Linked DNA regions of Homo sapiens: region 1 is linked to region 2. The links are contacts of gene promoters, found by promoter capture Hi-C in human tissues and cell types (Jung and others, 2019). All regions are on one chromosome and are shown on one strand. The core of a region is centred on a gene start or on the middle of the fragment in contact, and the rest is flanking DNA. Distances in the headings are between cores, read along the strand shown.

What was found. The method cuts DNA at HindIII sites, captures the fragments that hold promoters and counts their contacts. A contact is called where the count stands out against the background at its distance.
Region 1: a fragment that was not itself captured here is called in contact with the fragment with the promoter of SCAPER in region 2 in 1 of the 25 tissues and cell types used here (H1 embryonic stem cells).

What each region holds. Positions count from the first base shown.
Region 1 is chr15:76,558,932-76,564,337 of GRCh38, forward strand. The region is part of intron 23 of SCAPER (S-phase cyclin A associated protein in the ER); the gene reads right to left. Among named protein-coding and RNA genes, the nearest start is that of MIR3713, 25 kb to the right of the region's middle. The HindIII fragment of the contact is 4,573 bases long and covers 541-5,113 here.
Region 2 is chr15:76,901,469-76,907,574 of GRCh38, forward strand. SCAPER (S-phase cyclin A associated protein in the ER) reads right to left here and starts at 3,872. Exons shown (of 32, transcript NM_020843.4): 1 at 3,831-3,872. RefSeq lists silencers at 3,448-3,527, 3,548-3,657, 3,668-3,977 and an enhancer at 3,718-4,218. The HindIII fragment of the contact is 13,869 bases long and covers 1-6,106 here.

The DNA.
Region 1 (5,406 bases), core at 1,577-4,076, 340 kb before region 2:
CCAATATCCCCACGTGTCAAGGGAGAGGCCAGGTGGAGGTAACTGAACCATAGAGGTGGTTTTCCCCAAGCTGTTCTTGTGATAGTGAGTGAGTTCTCATGAGATCTGGTTTTTTTTTTCGGAGATGGAGCCTCGCTCTGTTGCCCAGGCTGGCATGCAGTGGCGTGATCTCAGTTCACTTCAACCTCTGCCTCCCAGGTTCAAGCAATTCTCCTGCCTTAGCCTGCTGAGTAGCTGGGATTATAGGCACCCACCACCACACCCAGCTAATTTTTTTTTTTTTTTTTTTTTTTTTGGTATTTTTAGTAGAGACGGGGTTTCACCATGTTGGCCAGGCTGGTCTCAAACTCCTGACCTCAAGTGATCCACCTGCCTTGGCTTCCCAAAGTGCTGGGATTACAGTTGTGAGCCACTGCACCCGGCCGAGATCTGATGGTTTTATAAGGGGCTCTTTCCCCTTCGCTCAGCACTTCTCCTTCCTGTCGCCTTGTAAATAAGGTGCCTTGCTTCCCCTTTGCCTTCTGCCATGATTGTAAGTTTCCTGAGGCCTCCCCAGCCATATGGAACTGTGAGTCGGTTAAACTCTTTCCTTTATAAATTGCCCAATATGTGGCAGTTCTTTATAGCAGTATGAAACAGACTAATACAATGTCCTTTACAGGAACATGGATGGAACTGGAGGCCATTATCCTAAGTGAACAAATGCAGGAAAAGAAAACCAAATACCACTTCTCATTTGTAAGTGGGAGCTAAATATGAGTACACATGAACACAAAGAAGAGAGCAATGGATACCAAGGCCTACCTGAGGGTGGACCTTGGTAGGAGGTTGAGGACTGAAAAATTACCTGTTGGGTACTACGCTTATTACCTGGGTGATGAAATAACCTGTACACCAAATCCCCATGACACAAAACTTACCTAAGTAACAAACCTGCATATATGCCCCTAAAACTAAAAGTTAAAGAGAAACAACAACTTGTATATGTGTGTGTGTGTGTGTATGTGTGTGTGTATGGGTATGCATATGTTTACTACTTTGTAAAGAAAGTTAAAATAGTTATGCTATTTTGTTAGAAACATCAAATTCCCACACATCAAATATTTATGGTGTCATTCCCACTGAGTTTTATTTTTTTTTTTCTTATTAGCTTTCTGCTATGGTCTTAATGTTTGTGTGCCCCTCTCCAAATTTACATGTAGAAACTTAATCCCCGGTGTGATAGCATTGGGTGTGGGTCCTTTGGGGAAATAATTTAGGAGGTCTCTAATCTTGGAAATGGAATTAGTACCCTTGTGAAGGAGGTTGAAGGGAGTAATCCTATCCTACTTTTCAAAGGAAGAAACTGAAACTTACAAAGGTTAATAAAACCTTGGTGAACTCACACAGCTACTACATGATCTATTTGGAATTTGAATTCAGGCCCGTAACTAGAAAGCCTGTGCTCTTAACAGGTGCATTATATTGTTTCAACACTTGCTGACTGCCTACTGATTGCAATATTTCATTTAATAGCCACACAATTCTTCGGGATGTGCCAAAACCTTATATTTTACTGATAAGGAAACTGACACCCAGAGAAATTAATTAACTTGTCCAGGGTCACACAATAACAAAACAGTAAGTTCTAGGTCCATGCTTTTAACACTGCTCTTAACTGCTTCCCTAAATACCTTCCCAATGATGATCCAAATCCAACCCACATCATCACTTTCAACAATCCTGTTTCTTCATAGTTCCTGGGAATGGAATAGAAAATAAGCTAAATGATTTAATTTATTCTAGAGTACAGTTCTCCAAGTATCCATTTACGACTTTGTAGTATCAAAGAAAAGTGAATTCCCAGGGATGCAGTGCTGGGGGATATACACCTAGCACTAGAAAGAAATACCTTCAAGACTTCTCAATTTTTTCCATATGGCCCATGTTTATCATAACTAGAAAATAATGTATTATATTAAGGAGAAATGAGTTTTCTACCTGCATTAGTTAATACACAGGGTATCTGTCATGGAGTCTACTAATTTAAAAGAACTGAGCTGAACTGAAGACAGCTAGCATCAGGATCCATACACGGGCAATTTCTCTCATTTTTTTTTAGTGTCATTATTTCCGAGAACCCAGACTTACATAAATGTGGTTAAAAACAGTAAGTATTTACTCACTGCGTGAGGCAATCAATCACTAAGGTGAGCTTAGAGTAGAATATAGCCAGAGAGTTAGCATGATGGAATACTATCAGGCTGCTATAAGCAGAAACCTTAATAAGCACATCTGCTTACTGAGAAATAACATCACTCAATGTCACATGTTGGGCCAAAAGAGCTTATAATTTATTTACTTAAAATTAAGATTAAATAATTAATGGTCCTACTTCTGGTTCTCAAATATCATTTTCATGATATTTCTTACCTATTGTAATAATTGACATGCCTGGTTGAAATTTCCTTTAAAAATTATTTTACCATAAAGTATTTTATATACTACCTTTCTTCAAGAGATATTTTTAGTATCTTTTGCACAGGTATGGACAAAAACTTAGGATTATAAAAATTTTTTTTTAATGTTTTTGTTCCCTGAAATGTTTTAATAAAACCGATACTTGAGGGAAGTGTGCTATTTTACCAGCTTTGAGTAACTTTTCTTAGCACTGTTTTAGGGAAGGGTGGTTAATCACAGTATGTAGGTAGAATACAGTTATTAAAACTGGTCTTTTCAATAAACGACACTCAAGAAATTATGCATCTATACGGGCAAGAAAAACAAAATGAAGTCTCTACCTCACTTTTTTTTTTTAGACGGAGTTTCGCTCCTTTTGCCCAGGCTGGAGCGTAATGGCTCAATCTCGGCTCACTGAAACCTTTGCTTCCCTGCAACCTTTGCCTCCTAGTATTAGTTTTTTTTTTTTTTTTTAATTAATATGAGGCAGAGGCCAGGTGCGGGGTGGCTCAGGCCTGTAATCCCAGCACTTTGGGAGGCCAAGGCAGGTGGATCACCTGAGGTCAGGAGTTCGAAACCCACCTGGCCAACATGGTGATCCCCATCTCTACCAAAAATACAAAAAATTAGCTGGGTGTGGTGGCACGTGCCTATAATCCCCCAGATACTCTGGAGGCTGAGGCGGAAGAATCGCTTGAACCTAGGAGGCAGAGGTTGCAGTGAGCTAAGACTGCACCATTGCACTACAGCCTGGGCAACAAGAGCAAAACTTCATCTCAAAAAAAAAAAAAAAAAAAAAATTAATACCAAATGGACAAGAGACTAAAAGTAAAACCTCAAGAATATAGGAGAATATCTTCTTTACTTTGGGATGGGATATTTTAAAAGAAGAGCAAAAACAACCTTTATAAAAGACAATATTGATAAATCTGACATACTAATATTAAGAACTTTTGTTCATCAAAAGAACCAAAAGACAATAAAAACACAGCTCAATAACAGGAGTAGATATGTTTAATACATTTGAATAACCTAGGACTAGTGTCCAGAACACACAGGATATTCTAACAATCAGTAGAAAAACGTGCAAAAGATTTGAACAGGCATGTCACAAAAGAAGAAACCCAAATGGCCAATAAATATGAAAAGGTGCCTCAACCTATCTGCCAAAAAACAAATGTACATTAAAATCTTGGCAAGATAGCACTGTCTACCTACAAAAGTAGCAAAAATCAAAATGTCTGATAATAACAAGCGCTGGAAAGAAAGGAAGCAACAAGACTTTTATATACTGCTGGTAGAAATGCAAATTGGTACAATTTCTTTGGAAAACTATTTAGCATTATCAAGAAAAGATAAAGAGAGACATATGTTATGACCCAGGAACTCTGCTTGCTAGAGAAATTTTTGCACAAATACCAGGATACATGCTTACAGGCACATTTTTCATAAAAATAATCCAAATGTCCATCAACAGTGGAATGGATAAATACCACTGTGACAAATTCATACAATGGCACATTATACAGTAATGGAAATAAAACTGTATAACATAAATTCTCGAAAACATAATTTTGATAGAAGGAAGCCATCAAAATGCAGACAGTAGGATTCCATTTACATGAAGTTCAAAACTAGACATGTTTAACTAACATGTGGTGTTTAGAAACAGACCCTTAAGTGATAAAACCATAAAGAAAAGGAAGTCGCTTCTTAAAAGTCAAATTAATAGTTTATCATAAAATGCAGAGAAAGGAGTGTAATTAGCAAAATAAACAGGAGCGGACAAAAGGGTTCTGGGATGCTGACAATGTCCTATTTCTCAATTAGTAGTCACTGAGGTTTTTGCCTTCATAGTTTTCATTATTTTGTGCAAGTAAGTATCTGTGTACTGTATTACATAAGGCAAGAGGTTTCAAAGATACATTTTTAAATAGTCCAAAAATAGTTAGTTTACATAATAATAGAAAATACCACTGAACGCACAGAAATACAAGCAACAATTGGAGAATATTATGAATACCTCTATGCACATAAACTAGAAAATCTAGAAGTGGATAAATTCCTGGACACATACACCCTCCCAAGACTGAACCAGGAAGACACTGAATTCCTGAACAGATCCATAATGAGCTCTGAAATGGATGCAGTAATAAATAGCCAATCAACCAAAAAAAGCCCAGGATCAGAAGGATTCACAGCTGAAGTCTATCAGGTATACAAAGAAGAGCTAGTACTATTCCTACTGAAACTGTTCCAAAAAATTGAGGAGGGACTCCCCCCCAGTTCATTCTATGAGGTCAGCATTATCCTGATACCAAAACCTGGAAGAGATACAACAAAGAAAACTTGAGGCCAATATCCTTGAAGAACATCAATGCAAAATTCTCAACAAAATACTGGCAATCCAAATCCAGCAACACATCAAAAAGCTTATCCACCATGATGAAGTAGGTCTCATCTCTGGAATGGAAGGTTGGTTCAACATATGCAAATAAATAAATGTGACTCCTCACATAAACAGAATTAAAGACAAAAAACCCCCACATGATTATCTCAATAGAGACAGAGAAGGCTTTTGATAAAATTCAACATCCCTTCATGTTAAAAACTCTCAATAAAGTAGGTATTAAAATAACATACCTCAAAATAATAAGAGCCATCTACGACAAACCCACAGCCAACATCATACTGACTGGGCAAAAGCTGGAAACTTTATCCTTGAAAGCCGGCACAAGACAAGGATGCCTTCTCTCACCACACCTATTCAACATAGTATTGGAAGTCCTGGCCAGGGCAATCAGGCAAGAGAAAAAAATAAAGGACATCCAAATAGAAACGGAGGAAGTCAAACTATCCTTGTTTGCAGATGACACGATCCTATATCTAGAAAACCCCATTGTCTCAGTCCAAAAGCTTAAGCTGATAAACAGCTTCAGCAAAATCTCATGATACAAAATCAATGTG
Region 2 (6,106 bases), core at 2,622-5,121:
TGTCTGAAACCTGCTTCAAAACAATTTAGTGAGGAGGTAACTTTTATGAAATAATATTGCTCATGTATAATATATAGCTAATTTTTGAAATAGATTGATACATAGCAGTTCATCATACTATTCTCTTTTGCGTATGTTTCAAAACATAAAATGAACGTATTACTTTAAGAAGTTATCATTTTAGCAAAACTTTATGAAATCTTTAGTGTTTCATGTCATAGAAGAAAAAGTCTTTCCATAAATAATTTCTAATAATTTTTTTTTTTTTTGAGACGGAGTCTCGCTCTGTTGTTCAGGCTGCAGTGCAGTGGCACGATCTCAGCTCACTGCAACCTCCACCTCCCGGATTCAAGCGATTCTCCTGCCTCAGCCTCCTGAGTAGCTGGGACTACAAGCATGAGCCACCACCTCCAGCTAATTTTTTGTATTTTTAGTAGACACAGGGTTTCACCGTGTTAGCCAGGATGGTCTCGATCTCCTGACCTTGTGATCTGCCCACCTCAGCCTCCCAAAGTGCTAGGATTACAGGCATGAGCCACCGTACCCAGCCTCTAATAATTTTTAAGACTAGCTCCATCATTGGACTCCAGATCTTTTCACTCTTTATATTTCACAAGACCCATAGCCAATCAGTGAAAGCCAAACATGTTTGTGAAAAAGGTTAGCTACAAATGCACCATGGAATACTATGCAGCCATAAAAAAGAACAAAATCATGCCCTCTGCAGCAACACGGATAGAGCTGGAGACCAATGTCCTAAGTGACTTAACATGAGAAAAGAAAACCAAATACTGTGTGTTCTCTCTTATAAGTGGGAATTAAACACAGAATATGTGATTGTAAAAGTCACAAACAACAGGCACTAGGGATCACTAGGCCAAGGGGAGCATGGGCTGAAAGACCACCTGTTGTGTACTATGCTTATGGCCTGTGTGATGGGATAATTGGGACCCCAAGCATCGGCATCAATTTACCCATGTAACAAATCTACACATGTACCCTCTACTATATAAGTTGAATTTTTTTTTAAAAAAAGGTTACCATCCAGCAGAAACTGCAAACAGAATTTTATTAATGATTTAATTTTTGCTATGCCAGCCATTTACAGTTTTCTCTTCTACAATTTCAGAAATGCCAATTCCACAATGGATATCAGATTGTACCCTTACAGAGAATTCTATTAAACTTCCCCCTAAATAATACCCCCACTTTCTAAGTGTTTAAATAACATTCACATGTGATTCCCAAAGAAGTTGTTTATCCTTTAAAACTAGTCTGGGCTGTGGTCAGGTATGAAAGTGAAAGAGGCCAGGTGCAGTGGCGCACGCCTGTAATCCCAGCACTTTGGGAGGCCGAGGTGGGTGGATCATCTGAGGTCAGGAGTTTGAGACCAGCATGGCCAACATGGTGAAACCCGGTCTCTACTAAAAATACAAAAAAAAATTAGCCAGGCATGGTGGTGAGTGCCTGTAGTTCCAGCTACTCAGGAAGCTGAGGCAGGAAAATCGCTTGAACTTGGGAGGTGGAGTTTGCAGTGAGCCAAGATTGCGCCACTGCACTCCAGCCTGGGTGACAGAGTGAGACTCGGTTTCAAAAAAAAAAAAAAGAAAGTGAAAGAAATGACAGAATCTCAAGTCCCTTCATCTTACTTATCTTTAAAACATTCCTGCAGCTAAATGAAGACATTAATGACCTTAATATCAATCTTTTAGGAGTTCTTAAAATACCTATGAAGCACCAATGGCAAACATTTTTAAAGTCTGTTTAGAATACTATATCCTTTGGACCAGTCACCAAAATTTATTTATAAACACATTTGTACAGTACTGCTGATTACACTTCCATGGTTATTTGACCTGAACAACCAAGTGATTAACCATAATGCTATGGTCTGCATGTTTGTGTTCTTCAAAATTCTTGTGGAAATCCTAGTTTCCAAGGTCATATCAGGAGGTGGGGCCTTTGGGAGATGACTGTATTATGAAAGCAGAACCTTAATGAATGGGATAAATTCCCTTATAAGAGGCCAGAGAGAGACCCCTTCACCCTTGCACCATGTAAGGAGACAGCTAGAGGGTGCCATCTATTAACCAGAAAGCAGGCTATCACCAAACACTGAATCATCAGACATCTTGATCTAGGACTTCCCAGCCTCCAAAACTGCAAGAAATGAATTTCTGTTGTTTATAAGCCACTCAGTCTGAGGTATTTTGCTATACCAGACCCAAATGGACCAAAGACACATAGAGTATATTTTTAATGCAGCTCAAGGGAGTGTGGAGAAAGAAGGAAAAGAGCATTTGTTGAGGGCTTACCATGGGCTAGGAACAGTTCTCAATACTTTACAGACACCTAATTTATTACTATCAACAAAATTATGAGGTGGATATTATTCCTACTTTACAGATAAGAAAGGCTCAGAAAAATTAATTTGCCAAAAACAAGGGTTGGGGCTGAGATTCAAACTCAAAACAGTCTGCCTTCAAAGCCATCAGATTACTTCTCCCACAGACAACCTTCCAAATCACATTAAAACTTGACTCTTTGATTGATTAAAAATATTAATTCTTTAGTGGATATCATTCTTCAAGTGGCATAAATCATCTGCAACCAACAAACTTTGAGGAAAAGTCATAGTTAACAGAAATAACAGAAGGGAAAGAGCACCAGTATAGGCCAGAGTGGGACAGTGGTCAGACTACCAACCTTAGGTCAGAAAACTTAACCCCAGATTTACCACTCACCAGCTGGTGATCTAAGGCAAGTAATAACCTTTTGAGCCCCCGTTTCTCCATTCATAAAATAAGTATTACTCCTAGCCCATCCATCCTTCTACCAGATTATTTATGAAGATGAAAAGTTAATGATGAAATTAATCCATAAACTAAGACAAACTATAATTCATATAAGGAATTAGTATCTGTTCGGTAAAATGACTATTAATGAATAGCTATTTTCATGGAAAATAACTTGTCACAACTAGAATAAGAGATGCAGTCCACCAGCAACAGGAAGCTGCTCACAAACAGGCGGCCTCATCTCAGCTGGGGCCCCCTTAACAGCAGCAGGTGTTGCTTACAGGACCAGTTTTGTGCCTGCTTTCTAACAATCCCGTTCCTCCCTGGTGCCGTTCCCACGAACGCGCCTGGAAAACGGTGTAGAGGAAAGGCGCCAAGGAAGTGCTGTTTTGGAAAAGAGCAGCAACAGAGGCAGGAGGCTGGGTCCCACTACTCCCAGGTGCGAGAGGCTCTTCGCCCCTCCAGGCCTCAGCGCACGCATCTGGAAGACGGAGAGGCCATTCCTGCCCCGTTTCCTGGGCAGAGCTAAGATCAGAGTACAGGGAAAGCATGGTAAACCCCGCTGGGAATGACAGATGACGAAGACGATCACCTGTCAAACGAAGGGAGGCTCCTCCAGGGGCCCCTCGCATTTAGACATTCCAGAAGCCTCGTCACCCGCGGCCGGGGCTGCCCCCAAGTGAGGTGACGCGGCAGCCCCCCACTCACCCCTCAGACCGCGTAGTGTGCGGGGTCTCACGTCCCTCACACCCCAGATGAGCCCGCAGGGCAGGGCCCGGACGCGGCTCACCCCAGCCCCCGTCCCGAGGCCTCCGAGGCCGACCTCCGAGCCCTCCCCAGGCGACCGCGGCTCCCCTCCCCCAGCAACGATCCCTGCCCCGCTCAACTCGCACTCCCAGGTGAGGGGAGGGGGTGAAAGGGCGTACCCCGCCGCCATTTTGTCCCCTGGTCCCCGCAAGGCATTCAGACGGCCCGCGCCCCAACCCGGACCCGCCCGGGTCTGCGCTACGCACGCCCCTCGCGGACACTCACCCCCGACCGCCCTGCTTAGTTCGGGGCGGCTCAAAGCGTCCCGCCGGGAAAGGGGCGTGACGGGGCGGGGCAGGGAGGCCTCGGAGAGGCGGGGTGGCTTCCCGGCGCACCACGTGATCTCAGCCGCTGCCGCGCCGCTCCCGGCTGCAAGATCTGTGTTGTCCGCGCGCAGGCGCACGCCCGTTCGCGCCGTTGGGGCGCCCAGGCGGGAGGTGTGAGGGTTGATTTGGTTCGATGTCCCGGCGCGGCGTTTCCGAAGCTGTTTCTTTTCCTAGGTTAAGCTTACACCGCCGCTTTTGGCCACACAGGTCTTTCTCGTACTCAATCTCTTCCCTCCTCCTGCCTTATCACCACAGTCAATCCACAGATTAAGGACTTAGAGACGCGCCTCACAGAAATCTGTGCTGGCGAAAGCACTTGACAGGAGCACGCTGGGCTGCGCTGAACACAACTAGGCCTCCGAGAAGCTTTATCAGGGCCCTTCTGTGTGCCAGGCTTGGAAGGTCGAAGTACAGAGACCTAACAAATACGTTTCATCTACTTCAAAGACAAACATATGATGAATTAAATACTTTAACGTTTAAATCAGTCTGAACAAAATAGAAAAAAGATTCAATGCAGACTGTAATTATCAAACGAATATTCACCGTCCCTTTTCATCCAGCTGGGAAACAGCTCTTTACCCTTCCCTCTCCCTCCCCACCCGCAGTAGGCGGGAAGTCCTGGACTCACAAGCGTTGTGGGGGCAGGAACCATATGGCTATGTTCTGGCTCCCCTTCTCTCTTGCCTTCTTAGAAAACTCGCTTTTTCATTTATTCAGCAAATGTTTATTGACCACATACTATATATCAGATGGTATTCTAGATGCTTGGAGTTAATACGTGAGCAAAATAAACAGAAATCTCTAAAAAACCTCCGGCTTCTTGGAGCAGGGTGAAACCAGGCAAGTGTTACATCAAGTTTAGCCAAAAGCTGTGTCCTTACATATTTTAAGTTCAGCCTGAAGGTTTCTCCGTAAATAGTAAACTATAACCTAAATGGAGGTGTAAATACACTGCAACCTACTCTTGCGCCAATCACCAAGTTTTGGCCAAAGACGGCCAACTGTTCAAACCGTGTTCAAATAAGGTAAACGTCTAGCTATAACCATTCTGGCTGTTTCCCTACCTCACTTTTCTTTCTCTGTCTATAAACCTTTTTCCACCATGTGGCTCTGCGGGAGTCTGTATGAACCTACTCTGGCTCAGGAGGCTGCCTGATTCGGGAATAATTCTTTGCTCAAACTCTGTTTAATTTGGCTAATATTTTGCTTTTAACACAAGAAATAGTAAACACAATAAATAAGTAAATTATATAACATGATAAGCACTACAGTTAACAAAATGAGTAGGATAAGGGGGATAGAGTAGGGAGCATACTACAATTCTATAAAAGGCGGTCAGGGCCTCATTTCTTAATTATCCCCACTTCCTTTCATACTCATAAGCATGTAAACAACCTGAAGTCTCTCCCATCTTGAAATCTCCCGCCGAACCTACCAGACTCCACTTCAACCTCTGCTTTCTTTCCTATAATACATTTCTCCAATTATCTAAACAAGAGTGCCTCCAATTCCTCAACCACTACTCAAGTCTGGACTTACTGCACTCTGGTTTCTGCCCCACCACCCCACTGAAACCATTCTTTCCAACATCACTAGGGGCCAGCCGCCGTGGCTCGCGCCTGTAATCCCAGCACTTTGGGAGGCTGAGGCAGGTGGATCACCTGAGGTCAGGAGTTCAAGACCACCCTGGCCAAAATGGCGAAACCCTGTCTTTACCAAAAATACAAAAAAAAAAAAAAAAAAAATAGCCGGGTGCGGTGGCGCACACCTATAGTCCCAGCTACTCGGGAGGCTGAGGCACGAGAATCCCTTGAACCTGGATAGCAGAGGTTTGCAGTGAGCTGAGATCATGCCACTGCACTCCAGCCTGGGTGACAGTGCGAGACTCCATCTCAATTAAAAAAAAAAAAAAAAAAAAAGTTGGGCTGGGCTGGTGGCTCCCGCCTGTAATCCCAGCACTTTGGGAGGCCGAGGCAGGCAGATCACGAGGTCAGGAGATCGAGATCGAGACCATCCTGACCAACATGGTGAAACCCCATCTCTACTAAAAATAACAAAAATTAGCTGGGCGTGGTGGCATGTGCCTGTAATCCCAGCTACTCAGGAGTCTGAGGCAGGAGAATCGCTGAACCAGGGAGACGGAGGTTGCAGTGAGCACAGATCATGCCACTG